Linked DNA regions of Homo sapiens: all the other regions are linked to region 4. Evidence: promoter capture Hi-C in 16 types of primary human blood cells and fetal thymus (Javierre and others, 2016). All regions are on one chromosome and are shown on one strand. Each heading gives the region's core, a stretch centred on a gene start or on the middle of the fragment in contact. The rest is flanking DNA. Distances are from core to core; before and after follow the strand shown.

What was found. Contacts are between HindIII fragments. The CHiCAGO score rates a contact against its expected background, and 5 or more counts as called.
Region 1: a fragment that was not itself captured here is called in contact with the fragment with the promoter of XXYLT1-AS1 in region 4 in 2 of 17 cell types (monocytes and naive B cells); the score reaches 5.5 in monocytes.
Region 2: a fragment that was not itself captured here is called in contact with the fragment with the promoter of XXYLT1-AS1 in region 4 in 11 of 17 cell types (total B cells, naive B cells, neutrophils and 8 more); the score reaches 11.2 in total B cells.
Region 3: a contact is called between a fragment that was not itself captured here and the fragment with the promoter of XXYLT1-AS1 in region 4, in 10 of 17 cell types (naive CD8 T cells, total CD8 T cells, M1 macrophages and 7 more). The highest score is 10.7, in naive CD8 T cells.
Region 5: a fragment that was not itself captured here is called in contact with the fragment with the promoter of XXYLT1-AS1 in region 4 in 10 of 17 cell types (monocytes, naive B cells, total B cells and 7 more); the score reaches 10.4 in monocytes.

What each region holds. Positions count from the first base shown.
Region 1 is chr3:194,809,164-194,811,863 of GRCh38, forward strand. All of the region lies in intron 3 of LOC105374292 (a long non-coding RNA gene), which reads left to right. Among named protein-coding and RNA genes, the nearest start is that of LINC01972, 42 kb to the left of the region's middle. The HindIII fragment of the contact is 1,507 bases long and covers 529-2,035 here.
Region 2 is chr3:194,738,447-194,741,146 of GRCh38, forward strand. All of the region lies in intron 1 of LINC01968 (long intergenic non-protein coding RNA 1968), which reads left to right. All of the region lies in intron 2 of LOC105374292 (a long non-coding RNA gene), which reads left to right. Among named protein-coding and RNA genes, the nearest start is that of LINC01972, 29 kb to the right of the region's middle. The HindIII fragment of the contact is 3,521 bases long and covers 1-2,700 here.
Region 3 is chr3:194,708,354-194,711,053 of GRCh38, forward strand. It overlaps LINC01968 (long intergenic non-protein coding RNA 1968), which reads left to right and starts at 68. Exons shown (of 4, transcript NR_037891.1): 1 at 68-794. All of the region lies in intron 2 of LOC105374292 (a long non-coding RNA gene), which reads left to right. The HindIII fragment of the contact is 5,304 bases long and covers 1-2,700 here.
Region 4 is chr3:195,093,285-195,095,984 of GRCh38, forward strand. XXYLT1-AS1 (XXYLT1 antisense RNA 1) reads left to right here and starts at 1,304. Exons shown (of 4, transcript NR_104188.1): 1 at 1,304-1,394; 2 at 2,001-2,093; 3 at 2,315-2,423; 4 at 2,636-2,700. All of the region lies in intron 3 of XXYLT1 (xyloside xylosyltransferase 1), which reads right to left. RefSeq lists enhancers at 745-814, 935-1,104, 1,175-1,224, 1,689-2,700. The HindIII fragment of the contact is 5,440 bases long and covers 1-2,700 here.
Region 5 is chr3:194,763,128-194,765,827 of GRCh38, forward strand. The region is part of intron 3 of LINC01968 (long intergenic non-protein coding RNA 1968); the gene reads left to right. It overlaps LINC01972 (long intergenic non-protein coding RNA 1972), which reads right to left. Exons shown (of 3, transcript NR_146990.1): 3 at 2,111-2,483. All of the region lies in intron 2 of LOC105374292 (a long non-coding RNA gene), which reads left to right. Among named protein-coding and RNA genes, the nearest start is that of LINC01972, 4.2 kb to the right of the region's middle. The HindIII fragment of the contact is 6,875 bases long and covers 1-2,700 here.

The DNA.
Region 1 (2,700 bases), core at 32-2,531, 280 kb before region 4:
CTTCAAGACAGGGATGTTTGGTCCCTCCCCGAAATGTTCCTGCACTAAAACAATCACCTTCGCTTCGGAACTGGCTTGGTTGCCAACCCCTTTGATAAGAAAGGGGCTAAATTGCTCATTATGATGGGGTCCTGGCTAGGTGGGTCAGGATGGGAGCACAGGCTTTCCGTCAGCTTCTGTATCCTGGGGTTTAGAATGGAGTTGTCTTGGGGAGCAGCTGTCACTGTTTAATGGTAGATGAAATACTCACTCTCTCCAACAGCATGAGAAGATGGTGAGCTGTTATTGTTATTATTTTTGATTTACAAAAAGAGCAAGTCATAAAGCCCCAGGGTCATTTAGCTAATGGACACATAATTTTCCAGGCGCTCTCTCATGCATCAGATTATAGGCAAGAGAGCCAGCTCTGTGCTCCTCTCCTAGGCTTGGTCTGGCTGCACAGTTAGGGCTACACCAACACAACCTGGACAGCTCCAAACAGTCTAGGATGTTTGCACCAGGTTTCCGCTCCCAGGCCTGAGCGCTCGAAGCTTCTTATAGCAGCACGTCTCGATTTGTCAGTAATAGGAAGATTATCCACTCAAGAAGATAGAAGTCCATTACTAGTCATTTACCTGATCCTTGGTCATTGCGGGGACTGCAAATGTAGGGAACTATTCGCTCCACTCTGATGCTTCTCCCTTTCAGTAAATAAGACCCAGCTACATGGGTTTACTTGATCTCTAAGGAGTCTTTGAAGTTTTGCAACATAGTCTGTTTACAATGACCAGATTCCTCTTCCCAACTTCCCATCTTGAAATTCTGCTCCTTTTTCTTTTATGGAGTTTATGGGAGGGCTGGGGCTTCTCCTAGTTGAAAGACTGTTAATGATCTTCTGATAATCATGAAAAAACTTTCTCTGAAATTTCCATCAATAAAAGGCACATCATATACTGCCTCCTCTTTGGAACCTCCTTGTTTCTCCAGTTGGAATTGAGCACCCCTCTGCCTGCACATTCCCTTCTTGTGACATGGAAACTGTGCACCGTGTTGTGGCTGTACACAGTTGTGTCTCTCCCATTTGCTTGTTAAGTCCCTTGAGGGCAGGGAATGAGGTCATGAGGGAGAAGCTGTGCCAGGTACGTAGCACAGAGTCAGAAGGTGATGGGCGCTAAAGGAGGTCAGCTGCCTCTCTGGTCTGCCCAGTGCCGGGTGCAAAGTGGGTCAATTTAGATTTTAGTTGAACACACATGGAACTGAGAGGTCAAAAGGACAAACAAGCTAAAGCAATAAGAAATAGGATAAAGGTTTTGTGAGACTCCTGAATTATTTGTTCTGAGTGGGGAAAGAGAGGGGATATGTTCAGTTTTGTTATAATACAATTGTGGGTGGCGGGGAGGGGGTTTCCAGATTTAGTTGCACTGAGCACAGGAGACAAATCAGATTGTGTGATTTGAATTTCTTGATTTTGAAAATTTGAGATGGGTTCCACCTGCTGCTGCCACCCGGTCTCTGGGGTATCTAAACCACATGTACTGACACCGGGACAAGGGAAGGGACCTGCCTCTTCAACCCATAGTGTACCCCACACATGTGGGTTTCCTGTTTGGCTTAAACTGAGGGAAGGGTCATCATTTACATTTGAAGTATTTTTGTTATACGAAATGTTAATGATCATGCTATTTGTAATAGTGGGGCTTGGCCTCCAAACCTAGGGGAGCAATTAGAATTATTTTACTGCAAAGAGCAATCTGTTGCCTTTATAATTTTTTAGTTCTTCAAATAATCTCCATCTGATTTTTTCTTTAGTTAGAACAATGTAGGGGGAAGTGAACTGGGGCCCTCAGGAGGAGGATTATTAATAGTTGCTGCCACCCCCATCAGCTCCAGTTAACCAGCACACAGCCTTTGCCACTATCTCTAAGCCATACAAGGGTCTTGCCAAATAATTATTATTTCCTTTACTTTAAGATGGGGGAACTGAGACCCCAAAAGGATAAGTGACTTCAGCTCAGGACTGAAGCCAGGATTCAAAATCAGACCTGCCAGCCTTCAAAGCTTGTGTCCCTGCCTCCAGACCTTCTCCTTTCCAGAAGCCAGGCTGGCTTCTGTGCAGGAGCCTGTGCTGCTGGGGTGTGTCACTGAGCCCAGGACGGGCCCCACGGGCAGGAAATGCACCTGAGAGCGTTTGCTGGAGAGTCTATGGAGGGCGAGGGCTTCTGCTGTCTGAAGGGCCCGTCTGATCTTTTGATATCATGAAAAAATCTTCCGCACAATTTGCATCCTTAAAAGGCAAATCAGGATAACAGATAATGACCCCTACGGTTTCAGCTCTGGCTTTCCTCCGAGCCTGTGCAATCGCTCTAAGATGTAGCAGAAAGGTCGCACAGGCTGTGGACTCAAAGCCGTTTACCTTGACCAAGTTACTCGGCATCTGGGAGGTTTAGTTTCCTTATTTGTAAAATGAGGCTAATAAAATCCCCTTCTTGGGGGTGATATGACGGTAAAATGATACGTTGAATGGCAGTGCCTAAAACAGTACCTAGAACACGGTAAGCACACCGTAAAAAAGAGATTAAAGCGCATGAACGTAAGCATACACTCTCAAAAGACTGGCGTAGATATTGAGTATATGAATATATGGCAAAGGCCACAGGGCTTTGTTAATGTAATGCGCTGGATGCTGCTGTGGGATGATTACAGGTGATTTTGCGGTAGGGA
Region 2 (2,700 bases), core at 45-2,544, 350 kb before region 4:
TTTCCATCCTTAAGGAAAATTCTAGTGACCTAAATCTGGGCCAGAAAACCAATAAACACAGGAGTTGCTTTTTAAGAAAAACTCAGTTGATAGGCTGAAAGTGCCACGAGGCCACAGGACAATTAGAGTATGCTGGGCTCCAAATGCTGAGCAGATGCCATCCTGGTTGGGAGCCAGGCCCTGGGAATAGAAACACCAGCCCTCTGTGCCAGCCCTGGCAGGGCCCTGGGAGGCAGCTGGTCTCCAGCCAGTGGCTCCCCTCTGTTGCCAGCACTGCACAGGCCCCAGGGGAATGAAAATTGAATTTGGCAAAATTCACATTCTTGTCTTTGGAGAGTGGGTGAGAGTTGCACCCTGGGAAGTAGATTATCAGCCAGCCCCATGAGGGGAGGGCTCACGTTCCTTTACTCGCCATCATGTCTCCAGGGTCAAAATCAGTGCCTAGCATATAACAGGTGCTCAGAAATGTTTGTTACTGACTATCTACACACTGAAGACAGGGAACGGAGCTTTCACCACTTCCTAAGGTTTCCAATTCCCAGATCTTTATGTTTGTAGGACTCTAGGTGGCTTCCGATTAAGTACCTATTGTTGAGGGGGACTGTGGGGAGTGGTTGTCCAAATAACAAGAGAATGGCTTCCACAGTCAGGTTCCATTTTAGAGGAGGCTCAGGGTGGAAGTAGTTTGCAAGGGAAGAGGCAGCCCGGCTGAGTCTTGGGTCTTGCAGGAAGGGAGGAAAGGGGATGCCAGAGAGATGTCTTGGGCATGGGAAGAGAGCCTAGGGCTTAACTATAGAAGGGCTTGTGGATGTCCTCTTGCTAGTTGTCCATTCACCAAGCATCTGTCTGTGGGCCTCTTCTTCGGGATGGGCTCTCCTGGGAAAGTACTGCATCTCTGTGTAGAGAAAGTGCTCCTTTCAGAGGAAGTGCTTTGAAGGGTGTGCTTAGAAGACATACCTTGCGATCTGGAGCGCAGATGGCCAAAGACACAAAAAGCCCCTGTGTACAGCCTCCCTGAACAGAGCAGCCCCACCCTAGAGGCTCCACTGGGGTCACTTCTGCCTACAAATAAGGACATGCTGCGAAACATGCTGACCAGTGCCTGCAGTGTGGGGCAGAGAAAGTAGCAGGTGGTTCAGGAAGACAGGAGGAAGCCTGTGGAGGGGGCAGCACCGGAGCTGGCCCTGGAAGTGTGGGGCAGACTTGGCCATAGAAGGGCAGCATAATCAAAGGCGAAGAATCGGGAGTGTTGTGTGAGTCACAGGTCATCCTGTTTGGCTTGAGGCTCAAGGAAGTGGGAGCTGAGGTTGGAAATGTAAACCTAGGCCAGGCAGAGCACCGTGGCTCACACCTGCAATCCCAGCACTTTGGGAGGCTGAGGCAAGAGAATCACTTAAAGATGGAGTTTGAGACCAGCCTGTGCAACAAAGCAAGACCCCATCTCTAAAAAAATTTTTTTAAAAATTAGCCTGGTGCCGTGGCATACACCTATAGTCTCAGTTACTCGGGAGGCTGAGGCAGAAGGATGGCTTGAGCCCATGAGCCCAGGCATTCAAGGTTACAGTGAACTATGATTACACCACAGCACTCCATCCTGGATGACAGGACAAGCCCTGTCTCTATAAACAAATAAACCAGCCAGGCACGGTGGCTCATGTCTATAATCCCAGCACTTTGGGAGGCAGAGGTGGGTGGATCACGAGGTCAGGAGATAGAGACCATCCTGGCCAACATGATGAAACCCTGTCTCCACTAAAAATACAAAAAAAAAAATTAGCTGGGCGTGGTGGCACGTGCCTGTAATGCCAGCTACTTGGGAGGCTGAGGCAGGAGAATAGCTTGAACCAGGGAGTCGGAGGTTGCAGTGAGCCCAGATCATGCCGCTGCACTCCAGCCTGGCGACAGAGTGAGACTCGGTCTCCAAAAAAACAAACAAACCAGTAAACAAGGTCAGAGATGTATGTGTCCTCCCCACGTCCCTCTGCTTTTTTTGACTTCTGGTGAAGAAAATTAGAGGATTAAGTTAATCAGATCCTGCAGTTCATGACATATTACCATCATTGGTCCCTACACATTCCCTCTCTTGATTTGCTTATGTATTCTCATTTCCCCATCCATAGCGGGATGGCTTGCTTCTAATACATTTGCCATCCTTCTTTGTGTTTGTGCATGTTCTTATATAAGTGATATTGCTGCCTAGTTCTTAGGATGCATTTTGCTTTAATGTATGTAAATGATTTGGGATTTCGTATATGTTATTCTGCTGCTGGCTTTTTTATTTGGCACTAGGATTTTAAGATTCATTCATACTACCAAGTGTGCGTACAGGCAATGACTTCTAAGGGCTGTGTAGTACCACTGAAGTACACCCACTACATCCTGTCCACGCCCAGGGGTGGACATCCATGTTGCCCACAAGTGGTTCCTTGGCAAAGGAACGCCATGTTGAGAGTTGACTTTTAGGCAGGCTGGTGGCCTGACAGGGCTGACGCATGATCACCAGTCAATGAGACACTGGTGAGCCCAGCTTGGATGTGTCCAGCTGGAGTTAAGTGGCTGTGACTTCAGGTACTTAAGGGACCTGCACGGCTTCTTACAGGCGGTCTGCATTCTTGGTAACGCGTAATGTAGTGACTCATGGGAGAAATATTAGGTCTCGGTCCTATCTCGGTCCTAGCTTTGAAAGGACAATGTGTTTTT
Region 3 (2,700 bases), core at 73-2,572, 380 kb before region 4:
AGAGATCAAGGTAGAAACTGCAATGCCTTTTATGACCTCACCTCAGAAGTCACACATCATCATTTCCACAATGTCACAGTGGTTATACAAGTGAGTCCTGTTCAGCGTGGGAGGAAATAACACAAGAGGCAAAGATCACTCGGGACCACCTTGTATATTGGCTACCACAGAACCCAACACAAGCAGTAAGTTAAAATCATGAAGCTCCTGACGTCAGAGGACATGGCTCTGCCATTTGTTAGGTAGGGATCCTGTTAAAGGCTCAGCTTCCTCATCTGGAAATGGAAATATAGGCCTTGCCTGGTTTGCTGTAATGGGTCGTGATGAGGACCAAACTACAAAGAGTGGTACAGATGTTAATTACAATGATTTTTCCTATGCCACCCATGGAAACAAAAATAGCAAGATAGAGAAGGCTAAATCCCAGTTTTTTTTGACTGCTATTCAGCAAAGCCTAGGAGACTTTCATGACACCTGGAGAGGCGGCCGTAGTGTATGTGTAAGAGTACCGGTTCCAGAGTGGGGCTCCCCGAGCTCAGCCCCACCACTTACCAACAGCGGACCTTGGGCCAGATGCTGAAGCCCTTTGTGCCTTGGTTTCCTGACCTATTACTGTGGAAATGATGACAGTACCCTCCTCATGGCATCGTGAGAATTAAATTAGCTAATTCAGGTGAAGCATTTAGAAGAGGACCTCCTGACACTTAATAACTGCTTGATATAAATAATAGCTTCTGCTACAGAGTGGCCATGAAGTCTGGACATGTAGATATTATATTATCATGCATCATAAGGTAATACCAACAAACCATTTATTATATATTCACCTGTTTCCAGATTTAATAGCCAACCTATATTAGTGCTCTGGTCCTAAATGTCCATGCAGTTTACTGTGCTCTTTGGTTGTATCTCTAATCCAGGTAGTTGATCTGGTGTGAGATTCCAACCTCGTGTGAGAGAGGAGAAGACCTTCATTACACTAATTCATGCTGGCCCAGCCTCCAGGCCACCCCAGATGTGAGGTGCTGTTAACACTGCTCTCAGGTGCATTGCTCAGCCCAGTGGGACCTTTTATGACACCAGCACACAGAGTAGAACAGATGTCCCTGTGCTAAGTTGATTTTGCAAACTGCAGTGGCCAGCCCCATAATGGCATAAAGATGTGCTTTACCCCAAAGGGGACAGGGTATTAGAAAACAGTTGAAAAGGCTTCTGAACAACATGTGAGGGTGCCCGGGAGAGGAATGCTCCAGATAGGGAAGGTCTGGGGCTGCAGAGATGTAGCCCATGTTAATAAGACACGTAACTCTGAGCACGTAAAACTCTTGAGCCTAGAAACTGGTAGCACTGATGGCGTTTAAATTACGTTATGAAACAACTCTTTGAAAATAATTTAACAGTTTCTATAAATACCCAGCTCTCTGGTTTGTGTAAAGGCCTTTTTTTTTTCTTTTCTTTCTTTCTTTTTTTTTTTTTTTTTGAGACAGAGTCTTGCTCTGTCACCCAGGCTGGAGTGCAATGGCATGATCTCGGCTCACTGCAACCTCTGCCTCCTGGGTTCAAGTGATTCTCCTATCTCAGCCTCCCAAGCAACTGAGATTACAGGCGCCTGCCACCACGCCCAACTAATTTTTTGTGTGGTTTTTTTTTTGTATTTTTAGTAGGGACGGGGTTTCGCCATGTTGGCCAGCCTGGTCTCGAACTCCTGACCTCAGGTGATCCATCCGCTTCGGCCTCCCAAAGTGGTGGGATCACAGGTGCAAGCCACCGTGCCCAGGCTGCTATCTTATTTTCAAGAATTTGACTCACGTCTTTCTGAAGAACATCTATCACTTAGAATGGCTTTCCCAAAATATGTTTTTAGAACACTAATCCCATGGAATGTTACGGGCATGGCATTAAAAAAGGTTTCAGTGATCAAATGAACTTGGGAAACACTGGGTCAAATATTCTTGAAGATGTTTCTTTTTAAAAGAAATTGTCAGAGCCTTTCATATGCTAATATGTCTCATGATTCTCTATGAGTGATAAAATCTATAGTTTCCCCTACATTTATTTAACCACAAACCCTGTTTTTGGAAGAATATATTTCAGAATAAGTATTCAGTGGAATCTAGATATAGGAAAGTGTAGACCCAATAATTGGAAACCTATTGTTTAGTCCGCCCAGTCCGCCTGGCACATCCACTTTTTCCGATAGCACCGTCTCTTCTTCCAAGAACTGCTCCCAGCTCATTCCTGTGGTCTCCAAGGGAACTGGTGTTTTCTTCTGTGTGCCATCCCTTGGCCAAAGTGACCCACCTCCCAGCCACTAAGTCCCTTCCCTGGAAATTTTGAATTTGGGACCAATAATTCTTTTTCTGGTGGTTGAGGCTGCGAGACACAAAACCTAGGCCGAACGCAGTGCTCACGCCTGTAATCCCAGCACTTTGGGAGGCCAAGGCAGGCAGATCACATGAGGTCAGGAGTTCAAGACCAGCCTGGCCAACATGGTGAAACCCCGTCTGTGCTAAAAATACAAAATTTAGCCACGTGTGGTGGTGTGCGCCTGTAATTCCAGCTACTCAGGAGGCTGAGGCAGAAGAATCATTTGAACATGGGAGGCGGAGGTTGCAGTGAGCCGAGATTGCACCACCGCACTCCAGCCTGGGTGACAGAGCAAGACTCCTTAGGCCACTGGGACAGTAGAAGATGTATTAT
Region 4 (2,700 bases), core at 54-2,553:
GTCCAACAATGATAGACTGGATTAAGAAAATGTGGCACATATACACCATGGAATACTATGCAGCCATAAAAAATGATGAGTTACTGTCCTTTGTAGGGACATGGATGAAATTGGAAATCATCATTCTCAGTAAACTATCGCAAGTACAAAAAACCAAACACCGCATATTCTCACTCATAGGTGGGAATTGAACAGTGAGATCACATGGACACAGGAAGGGGAATATCACACTCTGGGGACTGTTGTGGGGTGGTGGGAGGGGGGAGGGATAGCATTGGGGGATATACCTAATGCTAGATGACGAGTTAGTGGGTGCAGCGCACCAGCATGGCACATGTATACATATGTAACTAACCTGCACAATGTGCACATGTACCCTAGAACTTAAAGTATAATAAAAAAATAAAAATAAATAAATAAATAAATAAATAAAATTAGATGCTACTTCAAGCCATTACCTGGGGAAAGTAATTAGACTCCTCCGAAAATAACAGCAGTTCTGCTGCCACTCCTGGAGCCTTTCTTCTGGAATTATCTGGCCGTCCTCCCGCTGCCCTTCTCCCCACAGCTGTTCAGGGTGCAGAACTGCCCACTGGGGAAAAGGTGCCCTGACTCCAAGCGCATCCAAACTAATTAGGAGCCTATCCTCCCCCAGCCCACGTCCGTGGAGGCGCCATACCCCCAAGGCCTGGTGCAGTCAAGGGGAGAGTGTCAGCTGCTCCCCTCGGGGACAGTGGCAGCTCCTCCTCCTCCTCCTCCTCTTCCTCCTCCCTGTGTGGAATTTCGTGGGCTGGCTTGCTGGGGAGGCCATGAAACATGAAATTCACAGCACTGGCCTCTCCTGTTCCTAGGTCTCAGACTGAGGGAAAAGCATAAAGAAACGCTGGCTGTGGACGCACCTTGGAAGGAGGCAAAGGAGAAAAGAAAGCAAGCACCCGACACAGCCCAGCGAGGCCCCAAGGAGGCCCCACGCCCCACTGCCTGTCTGCACTCTGCTGAAACCCACATCCACGCCCCCAGGCCAGCTGGCATCTTCCACGCTTCCCTGCTCTCTTGGGGCCTCCTCCCTCACGCCCTCAGTGTCACCTCGCCCTTTGCCCAAGACCAACAGACACCTGCCCACACGCATGCAGGCCCAGAGTGGCCCGACCAGGCTTCCTCGCCCCTTGTTCTGTCCAGACACAAAGCTGACATGGGAGTCCGGTCGGCAGACTCATCCCCACACCCTGTACAAAGCTGGACACCCGCGGAGACCTCCGGAAGCCAAGATCTAAGCGCTTCGATCCCACATTCACAAGCCCCCTCAGCGGGGATTCCCAGACGCACGCTTCTCCTGAGAGAGTCCAGCCCCTCCTGGCGGCCGTGGTCCCTGGATGCGGGTGCTCGAGGCCTGTGTGGGTAATCACGCTTCCCGTCTCCACGCCACCCTTCCCCCACAGAGTCGCCTGCCCTTCCACACAGACAAGGGGCCACAAGGCCGCACCTTCCCCTCTCCACACAGCCTGCGAAGGCATCGCAGATGCCATTCTGATTAGCAAATGCTGCCTCTGCTCCACCACGCACCTGTTCTGTGGCTCAGCTCTGCCACTGGCCCTCCAGAAGGTTTTCTCAGCTAACCCCACTGGCCTCCACCTCCCCTCCCAGGGTTCTCTCACATAAGAGTTACTAGATGCAGGGCAGTGCTTCCCAGACCTTACTGTGCGGGGGAAATGTGTGTCCGGGATCTGGTTAAAATGCAGACTGGGATTCCGCATCGCTGACAAGCCCCCAGGTGATACCAACGCTACTGGTCTGCAGGCCACACTTTTGAGTAGTGAGAAGGTGGAGGTAAGAGTGAGGACTCTGAGTCAGGGAAAGTGTGTTCTGGCCCCAGCTCCACCAGAACTAAGCATTACATCTCATGAGACTGCCGTGAGGGCTGCATGAGGTAATGCAGTGTCTGGCTGTCGCGGGAACGCAGCGTGCACTCGCAAATGCAAATTCTCTTCCTCTTGCTCCAGTCTTCTCCCTGTGGCGGTGGTGAGTGTAATGCCTCAGAAGACTCTGCCAGGGCATTAAACAAAGTCATACGCGAACCCCCCGGTGCACGGCAGGTGGGTGATGTGGGTTCTCCTTCCTTGCCTTCCACCATCTGGGACTGGGGCCAGCACAGAACCTGTGCCCCATATGGTCAGGGAAGGCAGGGGGACAGCTCCTAGAGCTGAGCCTTGCAGATGGGCACTCTTACAGCCGGGCCTCCACATCCAGTTTGAGTGCTCATGTGTGGTGTTGGGGAAAGGGGTCGTTCAGGTCACACTGGTGGGCAATTCTTCAGGGGACTTTGTCACCTGTGTGCTTATGCGTGAGCAACAGCGCCTGATGACTCTTGGGAAGAGCCACAACAAAGCGAGGGCCTGCAGGCGGCAGTGGCCAGGGAACCCTAGGTAAGGCCCTAACACGTGCGGTCCCCTGATCTGCGGGTGGGGCAGCCTTCACTGGAGGGGGAGTGAGTCTCAGTGAATCAGAGTGGGTACATGTGGAGCTGCAGGTCAGCAGCTCAACAGGGATGAGTAAGGTGCTTTCAGAGGCCACGTTAACCACATCTGGCTGGGAAGGAACCAGTTAGCAAACCTCTCTTTCCCTGCCCTGTTTCCAGCCCACAGGAACTCAAGCAGCTTCAGAGAAGGTCTTACTTGTTTCCGGGGAGAGGCCAGAGGCTCC
Region 5 (2,700 bases), core at 47-2,546, 330 kb before region 4:
CTGTGCCCCCTATTTCTTACCCTTAAAGTGGGGTTGAACACAGCACCTACCTGATAGCATTCTTGTGGCAAATCAATGAATTTGAATGCATATGAAAACAGGACCGGCCAGGTGCAGTGGCTCACGCCTGTAATCCCAGCACTTTGGGAGGCCAAGGCGGGTGGATCACCTGAGGTCAGGAGTTCGAGACCAGCCGGGCCAACATAGTGAACCCTTGTCTCTACTAAAAATACAAAAATTAGCCTGGAGTGGTGGTGTGCACCTGTAATCCCAGCTACTCGGGAGGCTGAGGCACGAACATCACTTGAACCTGGGAGGTGGAGGTTGCGGGGAGCCGAGATCGAGCCACTGCACTGCAGCTAGGGTGACAAAGCGAGACTCCATCTCAAAAAAAAAAAAAAAAGAAGGAAGCCAGACCACACACCATCAGCGTCTTCACAGGCCCCTTGGGATATCATTCATGATAAATATTTTATTTATTTATTTATTTGAGATGGCATCTCACTCTGCCGCCCAGGCTGGAGTGCAGTGGTGCGATCTCGGCTCACTGCAACCTCTGCTTCCTGGGTTCATGTGATTCTGCTGCCTCAGTCTCCCAAGTAGCTGGGATTACAGGTAGGTGCCACCACACCCGGTGAATTTTTTTTGTATTTTTTAGTAGAGATGGGGTTAGGCAGGCTAGTCTAGAACTCTTGACCTCAGGTGATCTGACTGCTTCAGCCTCCCAAAGTGCTGGGATTACAGGCGTGACCCACCAAGCCCGGCCAGGAAGGACCTGTTTCTAAGACCCACTTTAGAGGAGGGGAGACTCCTCTGGGCTGTGGGGGTAGGAGTTGGACCATAAGCCAGGGCATCTTGGCTTCTCAGGAAAGAACATGGGAGAGAGTTAATGTGTTGCCCATGCAGTCTTCCTTGACCCTCTGATTTTTCATCTTTTCCTGAAAGGCGTGGATTTATTTTATTTTATTTTATTTATTTTATTTTATTATTTTATTTTTTGAGACAGAGTCTCGCCCTGTTGCCCAGGCTGGAGTGCAATGGTGCCATCTTGGCTCACTGCAATCTCCACCTCCTGGGTTCAGGCGATTCTCCTGCCTCAGCCTTCTGAGTAGCTGGGATTACAGGTGTGTGCCACCACGCCTGGCTAATTTTTGTATTTTTAGTAGAGTCGGGGTTTCACCATGTTGGCTAGGCTGGTCTCGAACTCCTGACCTCTAGTGAGCCACCAGCCTCGGCCTCCCAAAGTGCTGGGATTACAGGCATGAGCCACCATGCCCAGCCCTGGATTTATATTTTTGACATATGTAGTGAGTTGCTTGAATGAATTATGCTTCGCTTGAGTCTTAATCATGTAGTAAAATTGACTTCCTCTTTGAGGTGATGTCAAAGAGTGTAGGATGAAGACGGGGAGCGTTCCAGTGCTACTCTGTTTGGGAAGGAGAGGAAGAAATGCTATTTTCAAAACTAGAAAGTCTTCTAAGTTGGCATGATCTAAGTGTATGTTCTCATCTTCTCCGTGCCTCTAGGCTTAGAAGCAAACCAAAATAAAGATGTTATCGCCAGTTCTTTGTTGCCCTTTCAAAAATATCACTGGCTGGGTTTGGGATGATATCATGAAGCCTCTTAGATCTTAATTTTGTTTTCTTTTTGCTTAGTTTTTTTTTCATTAAAAAGATGATTAAGGAAACATCCTCTATATGATAGGTCTATATAAGATTCCCTTTCAGTAAGGCTTTTGTACCAATTTAAAACATTTAGTAGAAGCCAATAGCAGTGGATGTATGGGGCTGAAATTGATCTAATGCTGTGCTATTTAATTTGATTATAGGTTAGATCTCATTACTGAAGGTTCAGCTTTGGCCTAGATTTCTTAGAACAGAAAAGATTTTGGACTCCAGACACTGGCCCACTCATATGAAGCAGTGTGCAATTCCGTGTTATTAAAGTGCAGGACCGCAAGAACACGGAGGCGTTTGTTATTTCAAATCCATTTAGGAATAAGGCGAGGGAAAAGGAAGGAAAGAGGAACGGAGGAAAGAAGAAAGGAGGAAAAGTTGGAAGAAAGGAAGGAAGGAGAGATTCTAGTGAATTTCTGTAGAATTTTTTTTTTCTTTTAAATTTTATTTTTATTTTTTTTGGAGACGGAGTCTCGCTCTGTATCCCAGGCTGGAGTGCAGTGGCGCGATCTTGGCTCATTGCAAGCTCGATCTCGGCTCGTTGCAAGCTCCGCCTCCCGGGTTCCCTCCCGGGTTCACGCCATTCTCCTGCCTCAGCCTCCCGAGTAGCTGGGACTACAGGCGCCCAGTAGAGATGGGGTTTCACCGTGTTGGCCAGGATGGTCTTGATCTCCTGACCTTGTGATCCACCCACCTCAGCCTCCCCAAGTGCTGGGATTACAGGCGTGAGCCACCGCGCCCGGCCAGAATTTATTTCTAAGGGCTTAACATACTGAACACTTTCTAGTATTCTCTGAAGGGAAGATTCTGGAAAATAAAATTAAGAAATGCTTCACTGAAACAAAGCCTCTTCAGGAATTCATCATGAATTTTCCTACCATCAATTTCCCCTTCTTTCTCTTGAGACAGTCTGTCACCTCATTGGCCCACACTTTGGTCCTGCAAATCCTGCTCCAAGGTCTCAAAGAAAAGTTTCAATTGAGCGATTGGCTCTCAGAGTTCTTACACTACACGCTTAGGTTTC